Linked DNA regions of Homo sapiens: region 1 is linked to region 2. Evidence: promoter capture Hi-C in human tissues and cell types (Jung and others, 2019). All regions are on one chromosome and are shown on one strand. The core of a region is centred on a gene start or on the middle of the fragment in contact, and the rest is flanking DNA. Distances in the headings are between cores, read along the strand shown. Region 1 has its middle 19 kb from the start of ZNF135. Region 2 holds the start of C19orf18 (chromosome 19 open reading frame 18).

Region 1 (3,615 bases), core at 737-3,236, 100 kb after region 2:
GTCTCGAACTCCCAGACTCAAGCAATCCTCCCACCTTGGCCTCCCAAAGCACTTGGATTATAGTCATGAGCCACCACTCCACCATGGTCCACGCATTTCTGTCACACACTCACCCCCAAGTTCTGTTTATTTTAGGAGAGTGAGGGCTTTAAAGGAAGGTCTCAGGGTTTACTGTCAAAGGAATTGATTCGTTTATTCTTCTCTTTGAGCCCAGAGTAAACAAGTATAAACCACACAGAAAATGCCCCTGGCCCTATGTGGGTTGCAAGTTAGTGGGCAAGATAGGCAAAGCAAGTCATCAGAAGAAAAGCAAGGTGAGTCATAGCGGAGAAAACACAGTAAGACGGGCCAGACGCAGTGGTTCACACCTGTAATTTCAACACTTTGTGAGGCTGAGGCGGGTGGATCACCTGAGGTCAGGAGTTCGAGACCAGCCTGGAGAACATGGTGAAACCCTGTCTTTACTAAAAAATACAAAAATTACCCAGGCATGGTGGCAGAAGCCTGTAATCCCAGCTACTCGGGAGGCTGAGGCAGAAGAATTGCTTGCAGTGAGCCGAGATTGTGCCACTGCACTCCAGCCTGGGCGACAAGAGCAAGACTTTGTCTCAAAAAAAAAAAAAAAAAAAAAAGTGATAAGATGAATACCAGCCCAGAGATGATAACAACTTGGGGATTATTGTGTTTGGTGAATGGGGTGAGGGACGTCACATTAAAACCATGGCATCAGGGCAAACCTCCGTGAAAAGACAGGCAGAGCCACAGCTGGAGAGACCTCCCCAGTACTGGGGCCTTGGTGAGGAGCTGGGGAGCTTAGATTTACCATGTCCCAGAAGCCACCCTCTCACTGAGCAGATTTCCCTGGCAGTTGCCCCCATCGCATGTGGCTGGTCCCTCAGGAGCCTGTGTCTCAAGAGCTACCTGGTCAGCCAGAGGCTGGACTTTGGAAAGCTGTTCATTTCATTGAGACATCTGGGAACCTTTCTACAAATTCATGTTCTCTCGAGTTGAGGGAAGGCTGGGCTGCACTATGTTTTGAGGCTCTGGCTTCATGGATTTGCCATGAAAGTAAGCTGAAACTCTAGGTCCCTCACTTTCAGGGATCCCTTCAAGACCAAGCGCCTAATTTTATCTTTGTAATTTTGAATTATTCTTCTGAAGAGGGACCCCTCAGTTGTGTGAGCCTTAGGCCCAACAAATCTGGATCGACCCCTGGTTCCAGCAACCCTCGTCTTAGAGACTTCTGCATGGACACTGGGAAGACAGAACCCAGCACTGCCAAGGGTAATGGATCTCCCATTTTGATGTGAGTGAAAACCACCTGAAGGTGGAGGGTGTTAAACCTGGGACCTTGCTTTGGTTGGTCCGAGGGGGTTTGGTAATCTGCACACCAAGGCACTGGGTGATTCTGAAACAGACCCGGAAGCCTCAAGTGAGAACTGTGCCCAAACTTCCTGAAGCAGTTTGTCTGCGAAGCCCATAGTTCCCAAGTGTGGCCCCATCCCAGGAGCCTCTCAGGTTGAAGGAACAGCTACTAATAAATCACTGACTTCACTGGACTCAGGGTAGGCAGAATGGAGTATCTGCCTTTCTTTGCATCAAAAGCACATCACCCTATCCTGTTCTGTATCTGCCTGAAGGAAGTCCACAGGGTATTCCCGAGACCCATCAGACACCTCACTCATTTTTTCATGATACCCAAGAGACACACTTAGAATGTACGCAGACTACACATATACCAAACACATTATACTCACATCTCATACCCTGAAAAATGACTGGGAGACATAAATACACTGAGATGTCAAAAGGAGTAGTCTGTTGCCCAGGCTGGAGTGCAGTGGCACGATCTCGGCTCACTGCAACCTCTGCCTCTGGGTTCAAATGATTCTTGTGCCTCAGCCTCTTGAAGTAGCTGGGACTACAGGCACGCACCACCATGCCTAGGTAATTTTTTTGTATTTGTACTAGAGTCAAGGTTTCACCATGTTGGCCAAGCTGGTCTTGAACTCCTGACTTCAGGTGATCCTCCCACCTGGGCCTGTCAAAGTGCTGGGATTACAGGCATGAGCCACAGTGCCCGGCCGAATCTGTGTTTTTAACTTTTACATAATTGGGAGAATTCTTTTTAAAATGGTGAAAAATGAACTTTATTATAAAAGCCCATGGCTGGGCGCGGTGGCTCACACCTAGCACTTTGGGAGGTTGAGGTGGGCAGATCACTTGAGGCCAGGGGTTCGAGACCAGTCTGGCCAACATGGTGAAACCCCATCTCTACTAAAAATACAAAAGTTAGCCGGGCATGGTGGCAGGGGCCTGTAATCCCAGCTATTCAGTACACCACGGCGAGAGAATCGCTTGAACCTGGGAGGCAGAGCTTCCAGTGAGCTGAAATTGTGCCACTGCACTCCAGCCTGGGTGACAGAACGAGGCTCTGTCTCAAAAAAAAAACAAAAAAAACTTTCAAAGGAATTTAAAAAACTGAAATAAATGTCCTCATAATTTCATGACCCTAACACAACTACTCTTTGCATTTCTATACTTTGTCTGCTAGGATTTGACAACTAATGCCCACTGTTTACACAGTTGCAACAGAATCAACAGTTACATTCTACTTGAACTACACTTACAAATTACTCTTCCAGCGCCGGGCGCGGTGGCTAACGCTTGTAATCCCCAGCACTTTGGGAGGCTGAGGCGGGTGGATCATGAGGACGTGAGTTTGAGACCAGCCTGACCAATATGATGAAACCCCGTCTCTACTAAAAATACAAAAATTAGCCAGGTGTGGTGGTGCGCACCTGTAATCCAGCTACTCCGGAGGCTGAGGCAGGAGAATTGCTTGGAGCTGGGAGACGGAGGTTGCAGTGAGCTGAGATCACGCCATTGTACTCCAGCCTGGGCAACAGAGCGAGAGCGAGACTCTGTCTAAAAAAAAAAAATTCTTCGATTTTGCTAGTCTTAATTATCATTTATGCCTTTTTACTATTGCTTTGAATGGCTCTACCATTCATATTTAAGTCATAGTATTTAACTTCATGCAAACCAGCATCCTTGTGTATATATATATTTTTGGTCCTTTTTTTTCCTTTTTGTGGAGGAAAAAGTGGGGTCTCACTATGTTGCCCAGGGAGGTCTTGAACTCCTGGGCTCAAGGGATCCTCCCACCTTGGCCTCCCAAAGTGTTGGGATTATAGGTGTGAACCACTGTGCCTGGCCCCGTATTGTTACTGAATACAGTTGGACTGTTAGCTTTCCAAAATGATTGCACTAGTTGACACTGATTCATAAAACTCTCCTCAACTCAAATAGTGATGGCAGACATGTATTTGTCTGCTTGGGTTGTGATCACAAAATACCACAGGCTGGGAAGCTGAATCAACAGGAATTTATTAATATTTTCTCCCTGTTCTGGAGGCTGGAAGTCAGAGTGGGTTCCACGTGAAGCCTCTCTTCCAAGCTTGTAGATGGTTGCCATCCTGCTGTGTCTGCACCTGCCTATGGCCTTTCCTCTGTGTGTGCATGGAGAGGGAGCAATCTCTGGCGTCTCTTGCTATCTCTTTTTTTTTTTTTTTTTTGAGATGGAGTCTCGCTCTGTCGCCCAGGCTGGAGTGC
Region 2 (3,463 bases), core at 258-2,757:
AGTCCCAGCTACTCAGGAGGCTGAGGCAGGAGAATTGCTTGAACCCGGCGGTGGAGGTTGTGGTGAGCCGAGATTGCGCCACTGCACTCCAGCTGGGTGACAGAGTGAGACTCCGTCTCAAAAAAAAAAAAAAAAAAAAAAAAAAAAAAAAAAAAAAAAGGATCAGAGAGCCAGGCAGAGAGGCCAGGGAACCAACAATAGTGTCCTTTCCTCGGACACAAATTACATGCAAATGTATCACACAGACAGCATTTCCCTTGCATGGAATGGAGATTATTTACAAGCATCATATATCTCCACAAAGGGTTGCTGAGCTTCAAAGATTGTCGGGGTTGGTTTTGCTGTTATAAGATAAACAAACATCCTCTAGTACTCAAATTAGAAGGGAACCATAGAAAATGCTTATAAAGAATTCTCGGCTGGGCATGGTGGCTCATGCCTGTAATCCCAGCACTTTGAGAGGCCGAGGCGGGCGGATCATGAGGTCAGGAGATCAAGACCATCCTGGCTAACACAGTGAAACCCTGTCTCTACTAAAAATACAAAAAATTAGCTTGGCGTGGTGGCGGGTGCCTGTAGTCCCAGCTACTTGGGAGGCTGAGGCAGGAGAATGGTGTGAACCCAGGAGGTGGAGCTTGCAGTGAGCCGAGATCGCGCCACTGCACTCCAGCCTGGGCGACAGAGCAAGACTCTGTCTCAAAAAAAAAAAAAAGAAAAAAAAGAATTCTGTACACTCACAAACCTTCTGTGTCTAGACTTGCATGCTCTACTGCCAAATGTGCACCAAATTCAAGTCAGACAGGCATACCTGTGTAATCTGGATGGGATCAAGGTTTTTGTGTGCGCTTATTAAAGTGAAATGAAAAAGAGAAGAAAGTGGCAATCCCTAAAGAGAAAGCAGTTAACAGAGAGTGAAGAGCATAAGATCTAATTTCCAAGCAAATGTTTATCTAATTATACTCTATTTTATGGACCTTTCTACCAGCAAGCACACAGTACACATTCACATGGCAGATAAGAGGACTCCAGGCTACGATTCTCACTCCACTGAATGAGGAATTCAATGACTCACCCGTGGATCTCGAGGCAGCCCCTTGAATCCCAGGCAACTGGGTTTTATGAAAGAACACTTTGGGCTCTTTGGTGATGTTTCTGGGTGGTTGTGACCGTTTACTGCCTTGAAAAGAAAACTTTTTGCGGTGAAATGTAATTACCTTCTTTTTATCTCCCCTGAAACAGCTTTTCAATTCTCCCTGAGTCACATAAAACCAGTGGTTGAAGCTACCTGGTAAGCCTGTTATGTTTCCAGTGGGATGGAGTCCATCTGCATACGGCAAGCATAAATGAAGTTGGCATTCCATTAAAAACAAAAACAAAATGAGGAAACCACTCTGAACCTTGTCCATCACTCTCAAATTATCAGTATTTTATCCCGTAGATGAAAGGAAATACTTAGCTACAGTCCAGCATCTGTCCTCTATTTATCTGAGGAATCAAGAAGTTCTACTCCCTTCAGAATGTTTGGGCAGTGACTTGGAGCCACCAGTGTGAGGTCAGTCCTTGCTGTGATAATGGAGTTCCTTCATGGAACCATGCTGACCAATGGGGAGACTACAGTGTAAGAGGGCAGTGCTTGGAGGTGCAGGCATGATGAGACCAGGTCCCTGCCTGCAGTGTGCAGATTAGTGAGGAGGCAGAAAGAAATCAATTACAGTCAGCCCTCCGCATGCATAGTTCCCCATCCGTGATTTCCAACAACCTCACTTGGAAAATGTTCAGGAAAAAAGGAATGGGCACGGTGGCTCACGCCTATGATCCCAACACTTTAGGAGGTCAAGGTGGGCAGATCGCTTGAGGCCAGGAGTTCAAGACCAGCCTGGCCAACACAGTGAAAGCCCATCTCTACTAAAAATACAAAAATTTGCTGGGCGTGGTGGTGCACACCTGTAGTTCAAGCTACTTGGGAGGCTGAGGCATGAGAATCACTTGAACCCAGGAGGTGGAGGTTGCAGTGAGCTGAGATCATGCCACTGCACTCCAGCCTGGGCGACAGAGCAAGACTCTGTCTCAAAAAAATAAAACAACAAACACAAAAACAAAAACTAGCCAGGCATGGTGGCGTGTACCTGTAGTCCCAGATACTCGGGAGGCTGAGGCAGGAAGATCACTTGAGCCCAGAAGGCAGAGGTAGCAGTGAGCCAAAATCGTACCACTGCACAAAGAAAGAAAGAAAAGAAAGTGGAAGGAAAGCAGTCACCCTTAGAAGGGAGGCAATGTGCACAGGGGAGACCCACAGCAGGAAGGTAAAGGGGGACTCCTGATGACTGAAAGTGGGCCCTAGGCTTCAGAGATGGGAGGAATAGAAGACGGGCTCAAAAAAGGCAATGAACTATGTCATGTATGAGGGAGACAGAGGGGACCTGGGAGTGCTGGATGTTAGGGACCACTGAAATCAATACTGTCCAGGCTGTGCATGATAGGTGAGAGGAAGGGAATACTTCCAGGAAGAAGCAGAAGTCTGGGACTTTCTTTTGACTCGTGATGTGACCTGACCAACAGGAGGCCCTTTTTTTTTTTTTTTTTTTTTTTTGAGATGGAGTCTTGCCCTGTCACCCACACTGGAGTGCAGTGGCACAATCTTGGCTCACTGCAACCTCCACCTCCTGGGTTCAAACGATTCTCCTGCCTCAGCCTCTGGAACCGCTGGGATTACAGGCATCTGCCACCACACCCAGCTAATTTTTGTATTTTTAGTAGAGATGGGCTTTCACCATGTTGGCGGCCAGGCCAGTCTCGAACTCCTGATCTCATGATTCACCCACCTTGGCCTCCCAAAGTGCTGGGGTGACAGGAGTGAGCCACTGTGCCCTGCCAGGAGGCCCTTTAAGACATTAAAAAAACTCTTATCTGTTTAAACAGAGATGGGATCTTGCTACGTTGCAAGGCTGGCCTTGAACTCCTCAGCTCAAGCAATCCTCCTGTCCCTCCCAAAATGCTGGCATGAGCCTCGGTGCCCGGCCTAGAAATTTTTTCAAGATAATAATCTTAGTAATAAGGTTATAAGTTACCAGGATGCTTGTGGTATATTGCATATGACTTATGAAATCCTTTGGAATCTCTAAATCAGATAATTTGGATTCACTCTGGCTATTAGAATACAATATCCACATCCTACTGGTAGTATGATTCTGGATATATTATGCTGCTTTCTCCAAGATGAGATAATACTGCTAACTTCATTCTCTCCAAGGGCCTTTGCACAAATCATGTAAAAAAAAAATCCATCAATAACTAACTTGCCCCTGCCACATTTATCAGGTGACCACTAATGTGTCAGGCCTTGAAAGGACTACAATCAAATGTTACACACCTAAGTGAGCCCAAGCTAGAAGAGTCAGAAGGTGAAAATAACAGCCTCCCAATGACATCACTAGGCCATCATTTCTCAACCACTGGGAAGCCA

Evidence for each region. Contacts are between HindIII fragments. The study calls those that stand out against the background at their distance.
Region 1: a fragment that was not itself captured here is called in contact with the fragment with the promoter of C19orf18 in region 2 in 3 of the 25 tissues and cell types used here (IMR-90 fibroblasts, aorta and pancreas).

What each region holds. Positions count from the first base shown.
Region 1 is chr19:58,076,062-58,079,676 of GRCh38, forward strand. No RefSeq gene overlaps it. Among named protein-coding and RNA genes, the nearest start is that of ZNF135, 19 kb to the left of the region's middle. The HindIII fragment of the contact is 6,468 bases long and covers 1-3,615 here.
Region 2 is chr19:57,973,027-57,976,489 of GRCh38, forward strand. It overlaps C19orf18 (chromosome 19 open reading frame 18), which reads right to left and starts at 1,508. Exons shown (of 6, transcript NM_152474.5): 1 at 1,286-1,508; 2 at 1,073-1,177. The coding sequence starts at 1,406. The HindIII fragment of the contact is 10,862 bases long and covers 1-3,463 here.